Regions from separate parts of the Homo sapiens genome. Here region 2 is linked to region 1. Evidence: promoter capture Hi-C in human tissues and cell types (Jung and others, 2019). All regions are on one chromosome and are shown on one strand. Each heading gives the region's core, a stretch centred on a gene start or on the middle of the fragment in contact. The rest is flanking DNA. Distances are from core to core; before and after follow the strand shown.

Evidence for each region. Contacts are between HindIII fragments. The study calls those that stand out against the background at their distance.
Region 2: a fragment that was not itself captured here is called in contact with the fragment with the promoter of FBN2 in region 1 in 3 of the 25 tissues and cell types used here (H1 embryonic stem cells, mesendoderm cells and spleen).

What each region holds. Positions count from the first base shown.
Region 1 is chr5:128,535,921-128,543,193 of GRCh38, forward strand. FBN2 (fibrillin 2) reads right to left here and starts at 2,325. Exons shown (of 65, transcript NM_001999.4): 1 at 1,430-2,325; 2 at 482-564. The coding sequence starts at 1,683. RefSeq lists enhancers at 1-925, 2,651-3,151. The HindIII fragment of the contact is 18,659 bases long and covers 1-7,273 here.
Region 2 is chr5:128,592,121-128,598,657 of GRCh38, forward strand. No RefSeq gene overlaps it. Among named protein-coding and RNA genes, the nearest start is that of FBN2, 57 kb to the left of the region's middle. The HindIII fragment of the contact is 3,618 bases long and covers 3,276-6,537 here.

The sequences.
Region 1 (7,273 bases), core at 1,075-3,574:
GGTTATGTGGTTGTTGATATAAAACCAGAAATAAGAAAGTGGTTTTATATAAATGCCTAAGAAATCTTGATCTTCATAAGGCCCAAACCTCAAGCAGAGTTAAAAGCCTGATAATTTGCATAATAACATGTGGTCTCATCTGGATTTTTTACAGAAAAAGTGGTTTTGAGTTATCTAGATAATTGCTCTACTCCTCCCCTCTTCCAATTTGTATTAATAGACATAGAAAGATAAAACTTTCAATTATCTTTGAAATCTTTATCATTATTGCCCTTCAACAGAGTCTAGAAGTGAAGTCTGAACTGACTCAAACCGGTTGAGTCTTCCCCACTATTCAAATGGGGCCGCGTCCCGATTATCAGTGCAATGTGATCACTTGATTTTAAACGCAACTATGCGTCCAAATGGCTGAGTGCAAGAGGTCGGCCGGAGATAGGGCCGAGTGCGCTGCCCCAAGCTGCGATCCCTGCCAAGCACTCACGGACAATGCACTGGTTTCCTCCAGGGAGCGTCTTCCATCCAGGGCAGCAGTAGGAGTGGAATCTGGAGCCGCACACGTTGGGCCTGTGATGGACAAGCGCGGTCACGTAACAGATAGGTAGAGGGATGCAGCAACATATAAACGGTCTTCGTAAGCAATGCCCCGAGCGAGTAGATTTCAGGACAACAAACAAATCAAAATTACACTTCAAATTATTGGAGATCGGGAGGCAGACGTGGAAGCAAAAGAGCTAGATGCTGGAATGCAGGAGGGTCAGAAATGTCTAAACACTGCCTTTCATCTGTCGTCCCTTGCCTGCCTTTTTAAAGGGCGAAAAGAGGCATGGAAACATATAATTTGCTACTATTCTAGCTTCCAGATGCAGAGAACAAAGGGACCATTCCGTTCCAAAGAATCCTTGCCCTCCTTCCCAAATCCATTCCTCCTTGGTCAACTGTTACTTTGGCCCCGACGTGTCAAGGAAAGCGCGTCGCAAGGTGGAGCGCTCGGGTTGACGATGAGAAGGTGAGCTGTGAACCCTGCACACGTCCTCAAACAAAAGGCTCACGAGCGGCGGCCCCGACGTGGGGAGCAAGCAGGCTTCTCTGGCCCCTGCAGCAGGCGGACCCAGGCCCGCCTGCCGCCGGACATTCAGAACCTGTTCCCGCAGCGCGAGCTCTGCACACGCTCTGCGATCGGCACCCCTGGACCCCCTAACCACCCGCCGCCCAACCCCCGGAGAGAGGGCTTTCCGCCCGCTGAGCTGCGGGGTTGGGAAGGAAAAGGGGGACGCGCTCCTGGGGGTCTTTGGATATTCTGGCAAAGGGGGCTGCAGCTCTAGGCTCCAGCTAAAGGGTCTGGGACGGAGTGGGCCAGAAAGCCGCCAAACTGAGGATTCCCCCCTCCCCCAAGCCGGAGCCCTAGGTGCGGAGCCGCTTGCCCACTTACCCTCGGAGCACGTCCTGCTGTCCTCGCCGGCGGACGCGGCTGGCCACTGCGGCACCCTCCTCGCGATACTCGGGCGCTAGAAACCCGCCTTCAGAGCCTGCTGTAGCGGACCGAACCTGTTGCGGCGGCGGCTGGGGCCGGGGCGGCTTGGGCGGAGGAGGCTGAGGCTGGCCGGCCGTGCCCTGCGCCCAGAGCACCACACAGCCCAGCCACAGGAAGTAGAGCTGGAGACACAGCCTCCGTCTTCTCCCCATCGCCGGCGCCGAAAGCGCGCGGCCGTAGACCCGCGGAGAGGGAGTGATCAAAGACAAAATCTGCGCGCCTCAGAAAAGAGTCAGGGTCTAATAAGCCCTTCGTCGGCTCCGGGGACTCCCTCGGGCTCGGGCTCCCTGCTCTAGCTGGAGACCTCGACAGAGCGCCGGCCCCCTGACTGCCCGCGAAGCGAGACGCGGGGCGCCGGGTCTAGCGCAGTGAGCGGCGAGGCGCGGCGGAGGTGCAGCCGGCAGCCCCGAGCGGTACACGTTGCATAACCGGCCTAAAGCCCCGAGCGACTCCAGGACCGTCAGCGGGCGGGGGAGGAAATTACAAAAGCCCTGGCGTAAAATTTCAAAAAATGTGAACCTCAAAAGAAAAAAGGGCCTGCACGCAGAGCTCGGCGGATTCCCGTGCGCTCCGAAGACGGATATTGGAAAGCTGCAAAAGTCACCAGAAAGAAACAGGCAAGCAAACAAAAGTCGCCCCCAGAAGAAGAGGAGGGTTCCCTCCGGGCTCGCTCGGAGTCCCACAGGGCAACGAAGCGCGGGTAGCGGCTGCGGAGCCGGGCGGAGGTGCGCGGGGCCGGGGCGTGCGGCCAGCAAGAGAGAGGGCGGGAGGCTGGGCGCTGGAGAAGATGCGGCGGTGGAGGGCGCGGCGCGGGGGTTTTAGAGGCCCGGCGGGGCGCGGGGCGGGCCGGCGGGCGGCGGCTGTCAGTGGGGGCGCGGCCGTCCACACGTGGGGCTCAACCCGGACTGAGAGGCCGGCGCAGAGTGGGCGGGGACAGAGTAAGGGAGAGATCGGGACTGAGGAACGAGGGGAACCAGGGTTGGGTGAGGGGAAGAGGAAGGAAGGGGGGGAGGGCGAAGGGAGGGAAGAGGACGGAGATTGGGGAGAAGGGGGGCGAACCCGAGAGGAAGGCCGGGCTGGAAGAGGGACTTGGAAAGAGGGATTGGCGAGCCCGGGTGCGAGAGGAAATGAGCGGGGGATGGGGGCGAAGTTAGGGCAAAGAGAGAAGTGGGAAAGGAGAGGGAGGGCCAAGGTCCGGGCGCCGAGAGGAGGGGCCCGGGGGGCCGGCTGGAGGGGGCGAGGCGCTAGGCGGCTTTGCTTCCCGTCCCCGTCAATTGGCCGCTAGCTCTGTTTTGACTGCCTGTACAAAGCGAGTAGACGGCGGGGGATGGGGCGATTAGGGACCGGATTTGGGAAAGGAGGCAGCAGCCCCTTCCCCTCCCCCTCCGTCCTCGCCCGGCCGCGGACCAGGGACTAGGGTGCCTAAGCGCGCCAGGCTTGGCCGGACCCGCAGCTGAACTGACCCGCAGCTGAACTTCCCCGCCGGACAGAGGCCGCAAGGTTGAGGATGAGAACGGGTCTTTCTGTAGGGTCCCGGCCCCTGACCTGGGATGGGGGGATTCGCAGTCAGCCAGGAATAGAGGCTCACGGGGCTGTTGGTTGCAGCCTCAATCCAAGAAGGAGGAGACCTCCCCTTTGCCCTCCTACCCCCACCGCCCCACCGGGAGCGGCGTCAGTCTGCGGGACCAAATTAGGGGCTGGGAGTTTCCAGATTGAAATGCGCCCTCCACCACCAAGAGGGAGCTCACGCGGCCGCGGGGGGCCGAGGCAGCCAGCCGGCGCCGCGGTCCTGGGGAGTCCGTGCAGGGGTGTGCTCTGGTGTGAAACCTGGCAGGACTCTGCCTGGGCTTGCATGCAGGGAGGGGTTAGAGACTCTGAAATGTACTAGCGGGCAGGGTGGTGACAAGGCGGGTAAATGAGGCTCGGGGCATGCCCTTGCTTCCTGGCTTGGACCCCTTCTGATTGATTAAATCCTAGCAATTGGTGCAACCCTCTGTACCTCTTAGAGTGCCTCTCACCGGCCTGCTCTGGGTTCTTCCTTTGTGGCCCTCCTTTCATGAAATCTCTGTGAAGTCCTGGTCATTTCTCATTTAGTGGAATATCACAATTTAAAAATCAAACACTCCTGAAAACAAGGAGAGACCATCCAAGCACAGTTTGCGAAACAGTACAAAAGAGCAGTGTCTGGTTTATTCAAGCCTAGAAAACCTTAGTTTAAAGGGGAAAATGTTGAATATGTATAGGAGGGTGTGTGTGTGTGTGTGTGTGTATATATATACACGTACATATATACATATATACACATAACATATATATGATATATATCATATATCATATATATCATATATCATATATATGATATCATATATATGATAGATCATATATGATATATCATATATATGATAGATCATATATATCATATATATGATATATGATATATGATATATATGATAGATCATATATGATCTATCATATATATCATATATCATATATATCATATATATCATATATATCATATATATCATATATATCATATATCATATATATCATATATATCGTATATATCATATATCGTATATATCATATATATCATATATCATATATATCGTATATATCATATATCATATATATCATATATCATATATATATCATATATCATATATATGTATTTCTGGCCCAAATTGCCCAGATGTGCTATTTGACAGCCAAAATTCTCCAGTAATTGGCACAACTCCCTCCTTTATTTCTCCATGTAGTCAAAGGGTCTGAAGGTAGTACCCCTTGTTACAGTATTCTCATAAAGCAGAAGAAAAGATAAGAGTTACATAATTTCATGTGAGACACCGATTTGTTAAAATCCAGAGAAAGAGCAATACAGTTATTTTCACGTACTTCGCTTCAAATAATAAAATTATTTAAACTAAAAGAGCTAACTAATGTAACTATCTCCTGGTTTAAAGCAGTGTTTTAGTCATACCATTTAAAACATCCTGTATCTGCTTTTTTTGTTGTTGTTGCTGTTGTTTAATACTTACGTGGCTTCATGGTTCATTCCTGTCCATCACATTAAATCTAAATGCTCTAGAATTGCCTATGCCTTTACCCTTTGATCCAGCAATTCCACTTTTAGGAACCTATATAAAAGATACATAGACAAAAAAAAATGAAATGGTGCATACATTTGACTGTTCTTTGCAGCACTGTTTATAATAGTGAAAGACTAGAAACACAAACTTCCCATGAACAAGCAACTGTTGTGTATGACTTCATCTATTCAGTGAAGTATTATGCAGCTGTCAAATATGAATGAAGAGAAACTCTGTATGCTCTTAGAGAGTGATCTCTAGCATATACAGTCTACTAAAATAAAAAAAAAGCAAGGTACAGATAGACTAGGCAGTTCATTGAGACAAAGTAGAATAAAGGTTACCAGGAGCTCCAGGAAAATGGGAAGGATGAGTTATTGTTTAGTGAGTACAAAGTGGTCTGCCTAGGATGATGAAAAAGTTAGAAATGGATAATGGTGACGGTGGTCCAACATTGTGCATGTACTTAATGCTACTGAATTGCACGCTTAAAAATGATTAAAATGGTAAATTTTATGTTATGTCTATTTTTTACAATATTTTTTAAATGAAAGCTGTATAATATTGTATGCTACTTTTTAGGGGTATGAGTGTGTTATAGATTTAACAACAAACAAGAAGTATAAACTAAATCTAATAAAAAATGGTTATCTGTAGAGAAAGGGGAGACTATGAGGAAAGAAACAATGGTGGAAGCTAAACCTTTCTAAATAAACTTAGTTTTATAGTTCTGGCTTTGGAACTATGTTCCAAAGACCTAGAAATAGTGACAACCCAAAAACCATAAGGTCATTGTGACCAGATTGTGGTTCCTAAATACCATTTCTAAATTAAAGGAATCAGGGTTCCTTGGGTGAGTGGCAGATTCTAAGTCTGGGAAAGGAAATGCATAAAGTGAATCTGGACTATCTGTCTTGTCATGCCTGAAAGCAAGAAATTATCTGACTATTAAGGTCATGTCAAAAGGAAACCTGAGCTAAGTTGAAAGAGATCTTGCTGGTTAAGGATGGGGAAACTTGAGCATCAAAAAGAAAAAAGAAATGACAGCAAAAGATTGAAATACATGAAGTGTGTCAGTATTCAAGATTTCCGAATGATACTCCAAACAAAAATTAGTTGGCCACTTTTGGAGGTTGTTAGGGCACAGCTCACTATTCTAAACGCATCGATAAATAAAATTATTAACCAGTTATTCTTCCTTTGCTAGAAAGACCCAGAGAAAGTATTTCTTTTGAAAAAAAAAAAAAACCACAGTTGTAAATGCAGGAATGATGGAATTAGAAAAATCACTACTTGTAAACCCTAATAAAATAATGGACCTAGGCAACGGTTTTTAACAACTGCTAAAACCATTAGGTAAGAAGTGTTCAACTTGTGGCCATTTTTCCTCAGGGTATATTTGGCAGTAATTGGAGACATTTTTTATTGTCACAACAAGACAGTGTGTGGGAGTGGTGATGAGAGTATCAGAGATGCTGCTAAACATTCTACGATGTACAGGCCAGTCTCCCATAGCAAAGCATTATCTGGTCCAAAATACAAATTTACTTGGGAAGCCGTGCATCAAAAAGTCAATTGGGAACTTTTTAGTGAATGTGTCAAGCTGTTACCACCAGAACCTACTGATTAATTATTAACTTATGAAAAGTAAGACAACCAGACATTATGTTTTTATTTTTATGGTGCAATAGGAGGTACACAGACCACCTATGAAATATCTTTGTCAAAAAAACTGAGCCTGAATGTAACCATATCTCTACATTTAACTCCCAGTTTCCAAGAACAATAGAGGACCATGAAACATATTAAATGATACCTTGAGAATATAGGTAACCAGATCTAGAATGGGATATACCACAAGACCAAGTTCTTCAAATAAATGACATCAGTAGAGAAGAGGGAGGGGAACTGTTATGGCACAACCACCAAAAGCAATGCTTGCCCCTTATCTGGGATTTTGATATGAATGTTAGTGAAAAATAACATTTTTGATGCTATCATCCAGTCTAGTAAGTCTTATTTATATGGTTGCAGCTACAGTCAATATATAACTGCAACTGCGTGAGACACCCCAAGTAAGAACTACCCAGGCAAACTCTTCTGAGTTCCTGACCCATAAAAGGCTAAGGCAAAATAAATTTTTTAAACCTATAACTTTAGGGGTAATTTGTTATGTAGTGATAGAACACTGAACTGAACACTGGTTACTAGATATTAAATATTTATTTTTAATTTTGGGAGATGTGACAATGGAATCATTGTTATATTTTTAATATACTGGCTAATGTTATACTTACTAAAGTCTTTATAGATGAAATGATAGGATGCCTGGGTTTGATTCAAAATACTGCAAGAAGAACAAAGGCAGAGTGGATTAGATGTACTTTATTCCTCTTGGCAAGTATACTTAACTAAACATAAATAAATATATGTGGAGAGAGAGAGCATGCACACATAAGAAGACTGTAAATGGTAGGGAGAAGAAGGCAGACTAGTTACCCTGCTAGTGACCTTGGAACCTGAGGAATGACATGATGGTGGTTTTCCTGAATTGTCTTTTGCTTTTTGTATCCCAGAATGAGTGCTAGGAAATCTGGCAATTTGGAAATGCCATTGGCAACAGACCAAAGAAAGCCTCGAAAGAAAGCCTGCCCTC
Region 2 (6,537 bases), core at 3,835-6,334, 59 kb after region 1:
GAAAACTAGTTTTATACTAAACTCCAGGGATCTCAGATCTTTTATAAAAACTTCAGCACTCACTGAGTCCCCTAAGAGTGATCAACCTAAGATGTGTAATATGAAACTTCTGTGTGAATTTTTAACTTCCCCCAGATGGGGCAAACCACAGTGTCTTTTAATGCACTGATGGTATCAAAATGCATAAACATCAGATGCAACTGCACTCTCACATTCGATACCAATCTGGTATTATAATAAAGGAATTACAATGTAGGGCACAAAGGAAATCATAGCATATCTTCACTTCCTGCTTACTACGTCTTGACGATTTCATAACAGTCTTTTTCAATCAAAACCCCTTACCAGGATTGAATAATAAGATCATAACAGAGAGATAAGGCAAAAATTAGAATTCGGGAACCCCAATATTAACAACTAATGGATTTCTCATTTACCATTGAACACTTTGACCATTGCTCATTGGCTCATGGGGAATATCACTTTCCTTTTAGTCTCAAATGAAATATAAATAATAAAAATACTTTAGGAAACTTCTTTTCAGGATCTGCTCTTACTTCATATTAACACTCAGGGAAAGATGAATGGAGTTTTAAAACACCTTTTTTCAAAATGTAAAGTTCTAACTGTAAGACTTGACCATAAAAAAGGCCTTCGCAATATTGTGATTGAAATGTTTTTATTTATAATTTCCTAACTTTCATCAATATTTTTTTGTTAAAATGCAAAAAAAAATTGTATGATTTTCCTAAGAACACATCTTGTTTAAAATTTTATAAAAGTAAAATGTAAGACTTAGTAGAGGCATATGGATATACAATATTCCAGACACTTGAAGTTTTCACTTCCTTCCTTATAGTTTCCAAAATGTGGAAAAGAGAAAACTATGTTGTTATACAAATATATACATTAGTAGAATTCCTGTTGCTATAGTATTTCTATAACAATTCCAAGAAAGAACTCCAAACACTTCTTATGACATCTCTTTAATAAATGAGTCCAGAATTCCAAATCTTATTGTGTCTTTTAACTTCCATCACATATATGTTAAGTGTAAATTTATTTAGCATGAATATTATTCTTTCCCTTCCACGTCAGTCAAGCTAAAGCATACAGAATAGTTGACACTTCTAAAATATAGTTTCTCATTTGATATATAGATGAATATACTTGATTCTAAGAAATGTTATCAGAGTGTCAGTAAAAGTAACCATCTTATAAAATGGAATTTGTTGATGCATTCACAAATGTTTGATGTTCTTCAGTTGCACAATAATTTTCCTAACCAGACCTCAGAGAAAACACATAACAGTCACCACAATTTTTTATTTCTACCTAAGATGCAGAAGAATTATCAGAGAAAACAGGTTTGGAGGTCTTTGTATTTTTAGTTCAAATGTGTGTGTCTCTTTAAGGTAGTATATGACTATAGCCCTCCGCTGGAAAAAATATATATATATATGTATATAGGATTAAAATGCAAGGTTGAAGTGTCCAGTCTGTTAGGGGCTTACAAATGTGACTTTTATGATTTCTATAAAAGCAAGAGAAAATAAGGTATTTTCCTGCAGAAAAGTTAAATGTTTGTGTATAAAGCCTACTACACATAACCTCTGGGCTTGGCAGGATGTCATAACTCTCATGATCTGAGCAAGGTTCATTCTTTTCAAAAGTGGTTGATTATTGTTTCTTCTTTTTTTTTTCTTTTTTCTTTTTTTGAGACAGAGTTTTGCTCTTGTTGCCCAGGCTGGAAGTGCAACAGTACCATCTTGGCTCACTGTAACCTCCGCCTCCCGGATTCAAGCGATTCTTCTGCCTCAGCCTCCTGAGTAGCTGGGACAAGCCCAGCTAATTTTTTTTTTTTTTTTTTTTTTTTTTGAGACAGAGTTTCACTCTTGTTGCCCAGGCTGGAGTGCAGTGGTGCGATCTGAGCTCACCGCAACCACCGCTTCCCAGGTTCGAGCAATTCTCCTGCCTCAGCCCCCTGAGTAGCTAGGATTACAGGCAGGCACCACCATGCCCAGCTAATTTTGTATTTTTAGTAGAGATGGAGTTTCTCTATTGGTCAGGCTCGTCCCAAACTCCTGACCTTAGGAGATCCCCCTGCCTTGGCCTCCCAAAGTGCTGGGATTACAGGCGTGAGCCACCGTGCCCGGCCTAATTTTTTGGTAGAGATGGGGTTTCACCATGTTGACCAGGCTGGTCTCGAACTCCTGACCTTAGGAGATCCACCTGCCTCAGCCTCCCAAAGTGCTAGGATTATAGGTATGAGCCACTGCGCCCGGCCAGATTATTGTTTCTCTAGTATCAGATGATAAAGTGCAATTTCAAAATGTAATAGTCCTATTTTCTATATTCAACAATAATTTTTCCTTTTCACTTTGCTTGGCTAATTCTGGCCTATATAAAAGCAAATTTAAGACATTGCTTTAGTACATACATGAAACTTGAAAGCCAAGAGACCAGGAATGAGACTCATTAAAAAACAAACCAAGGAAGTTCTTATTGCCTACAGAGTATGTCTACTTACTGAGAGGGAAAAATCATAATAAAAAAGCATCCAAGTTTATAAATCATTCATTCATTCAGCAGCTATTTATTGCTTACTGAGCACTAACTAACCTGACACTGAAGAGCACACAGTCAACTGCATTGAGGACACCTACAAAAAAGAAAATACAACATAGAGCTTTTATGGAGCTGCATACACAGTGCTAATGTTGGGCAGTCAGAAAGGTTCTGGTGGAGGCAACATCTGAGATAATGTTGGAAGGAGGTGCAGATTTAATCTGGATAATAAGCAGATGGAGAGAAAGACCTTTAAACAAAGTCTCTCCTCTCCCTATGACAAAGCCTCAGGCACAAGAAAATGTGAACATTTTGGGGAAATACAAGTGGAACCTCCAGGCAAGAATCGCCAAAAATTAGATTGTATTAGCAGGACAGGATGGAATTCTGCATGGCGTTGCAGGTGTGTTAAGGTATATGGACTTCTTCCTAAGGCAGCGGGTAGCAACTGAATAATTTTAAGCAGAAGAATGATTTGTTTTTAAAAAGTCGTTTTGGTATACAGTGCAGAATCTGTCAGGTCTAAGAGGGGAGAGGGGCTCAAGCTTCAAGAGGGTTTGAGAGGCTACTGCTCCAATCCTTCCGATGGCGATTTGCCCAAGGGAATGGAGAGTAATGCACAACTTTTGAGAGGATTGGCAAGGAGCAGGAAGGTAGGAATCCAGGTCAATTCTGTATATCTGGCTTGGAGAAATTGGCTGATCGTACTTCCTCTTACTGAGAGAGAACATATAGGAGAAGGCAGGGCTCAGGAGGAACCTCTGAGACAGAGATTACATTTGGGTGCACGCTGCTGTGCTTTAAGCACTGCACCTTCAAAGGAATTCAGTTGAACCTGGCTCAGAGGGGATAGCTGGCCATGAGCAAAGCTTATTTCTGGTGCTGGGTTTAGATTAACAGGAAACTTGAATTATCAACCTCTATAGAAGCCTTTGACTCCATAGGAGAAATTCTCCTTTCATGCTTGGCACTAGTCCATTTGGAACATGGAAAGTTGGAAGAGGAAAAGACAAAACTTCATATGGGTATTGTAAAAGGAAAGGGAATATTTTTTAAGTGACTAAATAAAGAGGAGTTAGTACACCCTGTATCAAAACCCACTTTTATGGATAGTTAGTGAGTTCTAAAGAAAAGATATTTATGTGTAAGTTTGTAAAGTTTTGAGTTTGAGTCTTGACTCACAACAGTGTACACTGATGATTTTTTTTCTCCATTGTCTTGCTAAATGTAATGCTCATTTCTGTGCTATTTTCAAAAATTAATCAACAGTTTAATCAGTCATGCTTAATTTGGGGATTCCATTGGTGGCCACCTCCCTGCACCATCTACTGAATGAATCTATTTGTTTTAGGACATCGATGGCAGAAAAGATTATTTGGGATCCATGAACCTATTTTGTTTACAAAGCTTGTGCTTAGGTAGTTGACGCTATTATCAAACAGAGTGTGCGCTAGAGATGGTGCTTGGCAGGCTTGGGGTCAGGCTTTTCCGGGTCTCAGTTGTAAATCCTGCAATGTTTTTTTCCCCTCCCTTTAGTTCACTTATGGTAGCTTGGGCAGAGTCTGACATATTTCATTCCTGGCTGCAGGCCAAAACAGGCTTTTTAACAAAGCCACGTATTCTTTTCCTACTTTCAGATGGGCTAGCCCCACCAAAGTGGTTGACTTTCTTCTAAAGTAGTGAAAATAGATTTGTCTCACTTGGCTCTTTGCTGTAAGCAAAGGAAAACAATTTTGCCTAATTAGCAAGGGAAAACAATTTTGCTTAATTTAAAGAGAAGGATATAAGTAAGAAACAAGAGGAAGTCAGGAAGTGGGAACACAGGCAAAATCTTGCCTCAAATGCTCTGGTTCAGACACTGCTGCTGGCCCTACCTCCTCAGGTGACAGTGCCAGGATGGTAAAGCCACAACCGCCCACTATCTCTACCCACCCCTGATGCTGAGCACAGTAGCATAAACTGTCCCTTTATCCTTGCATCACTTGATGAAGGTACAAAAGCTGAGAAAAAGAACCAGATGGCGGGGGCGAGGCACCTGTTCATGGGATATGGAGAGGACACACTTGTCTTCCTTTGGCCTTTGTGTGCAAAGGTGGGCTGTGTCTCTCTCCAGGGCTCACACAGTGGGAGATTTCTCCCCAAAAGGAAGAGGTTTGTGCAGCCAACAAATAAGGAATATTCACTACAGTTTACCCTTTTGGCTGACTATATTTGTCCTTCTACACATATTTACATTAAAAAAGTCCTTATCTAACATAATATAATGATCCTTCGTATAACTTACAATACACTCTTTCCCTCCCCCAAGTAAGAAAATCTGAAGTGAGCCAGACTCCAAATCCAGAATCTCTGGGGGATGTCCACTTCTTTGGTTCCGCATAATCCCACTTCAGAATTTGGCTACTGAAAGCACGCATTATATGGTTGATTACTACCACCTACCTCCTCAAGAAAAGGGAATTTAATTAAAATGCGCAAATATAACCATGATTCAACAAGAAAGAAAAATTGGGTAGAGGCTTTAGTCTTTGTTTCTGCAAGTGACCATGAGACTGTCACTGGTATTTATGACTTTATTCCTCCACCAAGCATTTCTGTTTGCTTTGCCCTCTGCTAGCACCTCAGCTGGCTGGGATTCTTTACCCAGTGGGATCACTCAAACCTTCTTCCGGAGGGATCTAAGCTTTTGGTGGTTCTGCCTGAATAGATTGCCAGAGTCTTTGATTAACTTTTAACACTGGGCATGGTAATATGAGAAGGTGTTCTGTTTATTCTCCTCCCTGCCCCCATTGTATAACAGCAATCCAGTTTTTCCTTGAGAATTAGAATCAATCAAACTACGCTAAAACACCATTTTCCCCCTGTCTTCAACATGAAGAGTGTAAAATAGTCCAATAGAAGTCTAAGCTCCATCAAATGCTGAAAACATTCCTCTTTTCTATGATCCCCATGCCAGCAGAGCCTGGAGCTGATGGGATGGAATGCAAAATTTTGCAAGATGTAATTAGCAATTAGGTAATAGCACCATGTTTAATATAGCACCATAGATAATTAAGTGAATAGCACCATATTTCTAGTCCTTTGTTCCTCAACTAATATAATTTGGTTTTGGGAAAAACAGAATTGTTTACTGTTTGCTGGTTAAAGAACAATTACTACATCTACAGAACCAGGCCCTGAATTTTCAAAGTATCTATTGTACATTAGGACTTAAATCCATCTTCAGTAGTGCATTTTACCCTTTTTTCTTTCTTTCTTTCTTTTTTTTTTTTTTTTTTTGAGACCGTGTCTCACTCTGTCGCCTAGGCTGGAGTGCAGTGGCATGATCTCAGCTCACTGCAACCTCCGCCTCCTGGGTTCAAGTGATTCTCCTGTCTCAGCCTTCCGAATAGCTGGGACTACTGGTGTGTGCCACCATGCCCAGCTAATTTTTTGTATTTTTAGTAGAGATGGGGTTTCACCGTGTTAGCCAGGATGGTCTCGATCTCCTGACCTCGTGATCTGCCAGCCTCGGCCTCCCAAAGTGCTGGGATTACAGGCATGAGCCGCCGCGCCCAGCACATTTTACGCTTTTATAAGATGATTGACTCTAGATGAGGGTCCTATGATAAGACTGGCTATTTCTAAAGTAAAGTGAATTCTTTGGCTGGGAGAAATGTTGTGTAGTGTGCCAATACTTGGTTTCCCTTGAAGTGGACAAAATGCCCACTAGAGTTCATTCTGGGGATAATGCTGGAGAGCACTCGAATCCTGCGTTCTTAGGAATTAGTGTTGCCTCACAGATTGTGTCTTATCTTTTCTCTAAATGTTTGATATTTTTCTTTCTTTATAACACAATTAACTTAGTAAATGCCAAAAGTCACACAGCTAGTAAATGTTACAGCCAGACTTTGAATCCAGTATTCTGACTGCAAAATAAAAGCTCTTGTCTCTATGCAATGCATCTCTTCTCTACACCAGTGATTTTAT